Regions from separate parts of the Homo sapiens genome. Here region 1 is linked to region 2. The links are contacts of gene promoters, found by promoter capture Hi-C in blood cells and fetal thymus (Javierre and others, 2016). All regions are on one chromosome and are shown on one strand. Each heading gives the region's core, a stretch centred on a gene start or on the middle of the fragment in contact. The rest is flanking DNA. Distances are from core to core; before and after follow the strand shown.

Evidence for each region. The method cuts DNA at HindIII sites, captures the fragments that hold promoters and counts their contacts. A CHiCAGO score of 5 or more calls a contact.
Region 1: a fragment that was not itself captured here is called in contact with the fragment with the promoter of XK in region 2 in 1 of 17 cell types (naive B cells); the score reaches 5.0 in naive B cells.

What each region holds. Positions count from the first base shown.
Region 1 is chrX:37,851,336-37,854,548 of GRCh38, forward strand. No RefSeq gene overlaps it. Among named protein-coding and RNA genes, the nearest start is that of DYNLT3, 5.4 kb to the left of the region's middle. The HindIII fragment of the contact is 1,064 bases long and covers 720-1,783 here.
Region 2 is chrX:37,684,465-37,687,527 of GRCh38, forward strand. XK (X-linked Kx blood group antigen, Kell and VPS13A binding protein) reads left to right here and starts at 1,327. Exons shown (of 3, transcript NM_021083.4): 1 at 1,327-1,742. The coding sequence starts at 1,498. RefSeq lists a silencer at 1,069-1,448 and enhancers at 1,118-1,629, 1,630-2,139. The HindIII fragment of the contact is 2,462 bases long and covers 1-2,210 here.

The DNA of each region.
Region 1 (3,213 bases), core at 2-2,501, 170 kb after region 2:
AGGAGTCACTCTGCTTCCTGTGCAGCTTGCAGAACCACGAGCCAACTAAGCCTCTTTACTTCATAAATTATCCAGTCTCAGGTATTTCTCATTGCTGTAAAGCAATGAGAGAATAGACTAATACACAGACATACAGAGGCAGAGATATTCCAGGTTCGTTTAGTTGCTCAACAAATTTTGGGGCTTCTGTGCTTTTCATCTTTCCATGCCAATATCCTCAGCATGTCAGCAACATTTAGCCTCATGGTCATACACGGCTGCATTAGTTCTGGTATCGCTAGGAACAAAGATATCACGTTCAGTGACTAAGATGAGCATTTTCTGGGGTTGATCGGATTTTCTTAGGAAAGAAAATCTTTATTTCAAGTCCTCAGGAGTTTTCTCCTCAGGTTCCAGTGGCCAAGATTGGGCCACGTGACTCCCCACCGGGCAAAACATATGGGACAACAAATGTTTGTTTTTTCATTCTGTATGGTGAAAAGTGAGTTCTGCCAGCAAGAAAAAAAAAATTGATATAAAGTAAATGTTGGTAGGTCAGTCCTTTCCAAACTTTTCCATGCTATGGCCCACATAGAGGATAATACTTACATGGTACATTGAGGTAAACTGGAGGGGCTTGGTGGGCATCTGTATGGGGCTTGGTGAAAAAATATTTTCATTACTTTATATAATTATATGAAAAAATAAAATAGAAAGGGTGTTAAAATTGAATTTTTTAAAGCTTCCAAATAAAACCTCTTTCAATGCTTTAGTGAGACCCTCAATCTTGGTTTCACCCATATAATATTTTATATCTGGCTCTACGCATTGAACAGCCATAAGCAATTCCTGTTAATGAGTTTTTAATAATTAATTTTCCCTAAATATGAATAAATTATATTGTCTAGAAAGGTTTGCCATAGAAGCAGCTGATAAAAAACATTTGGACCCACTTTACAAACCACTAAAATTATATTTAAAGACTTCTGTAATGGTAGACTATGTAATTAGGACCATCTCTTTCACTGATAATTACAAAGGTTGGACAAAATATAATAGACATTTGCTCAAGGGAATTGGATTTTTTAACAAGATAGGGAAGAATTATGGATCTAAGACATAGAATAATGAAACCCAGAAAGATGAGCATGGCATTTGGGATAACTTTTTACCTCGAGGTGAGAAGATGTTAAGCCTTTTGCTTATGGGCCAAGGGGTAAAATAATCAGACTGCATGTCCTGCCAAGGAAGATGATTCTGGTAAACAGTCTTGCTTTGGGTTGAAACCCCATGGATTAAACCCTGGGAGTGAAACACTCAAACTTGATCTTGCAGACTGAATCTCAGTTTTAAATTACCCAAACCCCTAAAATTGAATTAAGGTGATCCGGAATTGCTAATGCCTCTAGCCAACTTCTAGAAGCCAATGTAAATTCTCTCTGAAGGAAGAAAACATTATCTTAGGTCTCAAATCAGACATATGATTTTTTGCATACATCAAGTGGACAATAAAATATAACTAGACACATAACGAGACAAAACAACATTATCTTAAATCAAAAGACAATGGAAACAGCCCAATCAGGGATGAAGATGATGGAGTTATCAGAAATAGACTTTAAAATAACTATGCTTACTATATTAAAAGAGATAAAAGACAGGGTTGAGAATTTCATCCAATAACTTGAAATTATAAAAAGTATACAAATGGAATTTCTAGAAGTAGAAAATACAGTAACCAATTTTTTAAAAAGAACAAAGAATCGATTCTATAGTGGTTCCTACAAAGCTGAAGATTAAGTGAAGCTTAAAAAATTGGACAGAATAGACCGGGGCGCAGTGGCTCACGCCTATAATCCGAGCACTTTGGGAGGCCAAGGGGGGCAGATCATGAGGTTAGGAGATCGAGACCATCCTGACTAACATGGTGAAATCCCGTCTCTACTAAAAATACAAAAAAATTAGCCAGGCGTGGTGGTGGGCACCTGTAGTCCCAGCTACTCGGGATGCTGAGGCGGGAGAATGGCTTGAACCCAGGAGGCAGAGCTTGCAGTGAGCTGAGATCATGCCACTGCACTCAAGCCTGTGTGACAGAGTGAGACTTTCTCTCAGAAAAAAAAAAATGGACAGAATAAAATAGCCAGAGTAAAGCACAGAGACATAAATTAATGTAAAATACAGAAGAAAGCATACAGACAAAAGTAATACCATGAGAAAGTTTAACATACATAGTGAGATTTCCAGAAGGAGATGAGACAGAATGGACAGAAACAATATTTAATGAAATATTAGCTGAAGGTCTTCCAAAACTGATGAAAGAACATATTAGTCAGAGTCTCTGTAGGAAGCAGATGAAACTCCCAAAATATTAATTCAGGGAGGATTTATTTACAATGCTGTGTGCTGGGATGGTGGATATAGCAGATCTATAAGGAATAGGTTCAGGAATCCAGTATAGCCTATCACTTTTCTCCATCAATATCCATCCACTTGCCCAGCTACAGAGGCAAGGACTATAGCAACTATTCTGTGTTACTTCATCCCCTCTCCCTTTTACCTCCACTGATCATAGCTAATGTTTTTGATTGCAGGTGGTTGTGTGACCAACTTAAATGCTATAATAGATGATGCACCTCCTCTATATGTCAAGCAGCACATTTTGTGCTCTACATCTACTATATTTCCAGGGACTCTGTGATTACAGTTCCAATTAATGTCAACAATGTCATGGATCAATGTGATGTGGTACAGCTCTAAGATATGAGGGACTCCCTTAAATCTGACGTGGAGGTCTTCTAGTTTTTTATTATTATTATTTATTTATTTTTTAGATCTAGTCCTGAATCCAGACTTTCTAGTTTTTTAATTCATGTTCTTCATTTCATATTTATAACTCTTATATTTTCCCTATCTGTACTTTCTAAAGCTATAATAAAGCACCAGGTGACTCCACAATCTTTATAAGAAACTTTGTTGCTATAGAGATTAAGCGCTACAGCCACTTGACCTCCAGTGCCTTGCCCTCTACCTGCATCACATCCTCTGATGATAAAGTGAGTAATCATTATGCCACATCGTGGTCATGAATTACATATGCCCTATTTCTTCCCAGTAAGAAGATTATCCGTGTGCTCCTTTAAGTATATGAACAACCAATTCTCAGAATTTCATTTTGAGTATGTGTGTATATAAAGAGATTTATTTTAAGATATTTAAGAGTCACTTATAGTTTCC
Region 2 (3,063 bases), core at 77-2,576:
TCAGTGTCCTGATTAATAATTCTAAGCTACCAATTTTTCCTTTAAAGCTAACCATGATGTCAAGTAAAACATTACACAAATACTCTGTGGAGTGTTGCTGCTGATTCTGTATTTGTGGCAGTGTATGTATCTTGGCCCAGGACATGGTGGCCTTCTGGGTTCTATAAATAGACATTAGTAATCCTTTTAGGGAAAGGGCCTGCTACCTCTCAGCTGCTGGCTGAATCTGCCCCTTAACTCATAAATGGATTTTCTCATGCCACATAAAAAACAGAAAAACAGCCCACCACATTCTCTCCCTGTACCTCTTTTTTGGTTTGATTCCTTTTGAATCTTTATATTCTATTTGTGTTTACATTATTTTCCTAAATAGAAAAATGCCAGAGATGCCTGAAGATTGAAATCACCCAATTTCAACAGGGGAAGAGATCTTATAATTATTTAAGTCTAATCCCTTTATGGAACCTGAGTTTCAGAAAGATTTAGTGACTTGATCGAGGTCTGAGGGACGGGGGTGGACTGAGTACATCCTGATATCAAGAAGATGGTGGAAAGTTCAATGGGCTAAAAGGAGTTGTGTTAGTCTTGGTATTGGCACACCAATAAGCAGAGGTCTGTCTTGGAATAAAAAAAACTACTTCCTTATTAGGCCCTGATCTTTGCCCTGAATTACTTACAGTTACAGAGGAATATATTTTGTAGGCAGTTTTTCTGGGAGGTAAGGACAGGTTCCTAGAGACGATCTTTGACGCCTTTTCACCACTGGAAGCAATGCTTCAGACCACTGTATTTGGAAGACAAAGGGACATGCTCACATGGCACAGTGAAAAGTGAAATCTTTTCCCACTTGGTGGTGGGTGCATGACAATATACTTGCACTTTGAAAAGCCTCTGTGTGGTCTGGTTATTTTTAAAAGGCCAGAAATGCTGGCCCTTTGAAGAATCACGCGTTTCCTCGGCCCAGAAAATAGACTGGGCTAGAAAGGCGCCCGGACTCCAATTCTGGGCCCGGGTGGTTGCAGTTTTTCAAAGGGATGTGAACGGTTTCCCAAGATAGGACCCAAGGGACTCTAGGACCCAGAGGCTGCGCGCGACGCCCGCAGGGCGAACTGCATCCTTTTGAGCTCCCGCTCCATGGCCTGAGCCGTCGTAGGGCGCGGGTTCGCGGCCCGCCAGGGGACGGTCACCACAGAGACGCAGCCGGCACTGGCGAGCGAGCGAGCAGGCGGCGCACGGAGCGCGTGGGCGTGTCCCGGCGGGGCTGCGCAGCTCGCCCCACCCCACCCCACCCCAGCCAGGTCGGCCGCCCCCACCAGGTCCAGTTCCAGAGCCCAGGCCGGTCGGCCGGGCCCGCGTGCCCTCGGCGGGCTGCGCAGAGCGCGGGAGCGGTTTGGGGCTGGGCATGCTGGGAGCCCCTCGGGCAACGGCCGCCGCCGCCACAGCCACACAGCCGCCGCCACTGCGTCCGTCCCCGGTGAGCGCCGCTGACGCGCGGAGATGAAATTCCCGGCCTCGGTGCTGGCGTCCGTGTTCCTGTTCGTGGCCGAGACAACGGCGGCGCTCAGCCTGAGCAGCACCTACCGCTCGGGCGGGGACCGCATGTGGCAGGCGCTGACGTTGCTTTTCTCGCTACTGCCTTGCGCGCTCGTGCAGCTCACGCTTCTCTTCGTACACCGCGACCTCAGCCGCGACCGCCCGCTCGTACTGCTGCTGCACCTGCTGCAACTTGGGCCCCTTTTCAGGTGCGTGCAGAAGCCCAGAGCCAGCCCCAGGCCGCAGCCTCGGTCCTGTAGCCTGATCTCCCCACCTGCTCGAGTGGAGGGAGGCGGTTTTCCTGTGGAGACAGGTGGCTGAGCCCCAAGCCGGTCCGCCATGCCCCTCAGCCCCATTATTCCAGTCAGGAACGCGACGAATCATGGCATAATGGTTATAAAGTTGGGGCACACTGAATTCCTGTTAGGTTCCGTCAAATGAAATAGCCAACATTCAACTGAAATTGACCAACAAAAATGGCAGTTTCTTGTGGTTCAACCTCATTAAAGACATTGGTTTCTCTGGGGTCAAGTAGGCTCTGACAGGATTGGCTTGTGTTGTCACAAACCCTTGGGAAGTGTGTTCTAAGCTGTGGTTACGGGGACAGCATGTACAGGTGATTTAATTTTAATTTATCAAACACATGGAGCTTACTGTGTGCCAAGCACTGTTCTAAAAGCTTTAACAGTATTTAATTCTCATAGGGAAGTCAAGAAATCCATGCACCATTCTTTTCTCTTGGTGGCGTTACGAATATTATGGGATATGGAAACATATGGGGTTCTAGAAATGTCTTCCGGCCCTGGCAAACTTATAAACGTAGCCATTAAAGCTGGTGCACAATGCACCATGAAAACAAAACTTGCTGTGTGTTAAGTAAAGAAAAACTGTTGGTGACATTTCTGGAAATTAATTTTTATTAACACAAAGCAAGTAGAAATACATGGTAATAAAACAGACTGGCTTATCTAAGGAGTTTAAAATGTGTTGTTTTAGTACCTTTCATCACTATAGGAAAAGCAAAACAAAGGCCGTCCATTTGGATTAGAAATAAGTTTATAATACTGAATTTTAGACATAGGCGACAGAGGAATTTGAAGAGATGGAAAGGCCAGAGAGACACCTCAGCTGCCAGAAAATTCAGCTAGCCCTACCAGGAAATCTCTCTCTCTCTCTCTCTCTTTCTCTCTCTCTCTTACACACACACACACACACACACACACACACACGCACACACACACATTGAGGAGCAAGATAAATTTTACAAAGTTATAATTTTTTTTTTTTTGAGACAAGGTCTTGCTTTATCAGCCAGGCTGGAGTGCAGTAGCAAGATCATAGCTCATTGCATCCTCCACCTCCTGGGCACAAGTGATACTCCTGCCTCAGTCTCCAGAGTAGCTAGGACTGCAGGCAAGCGCCATCATGCCTGGCTAATTTTCTTTTTTCTTTCTTTTTTTTTGTATTTTTTGTAGAGACAGAGTCTCCCTATGTTGCCCAGGCTGGTCTCGAGCTCTTGAGTTCCAGTGA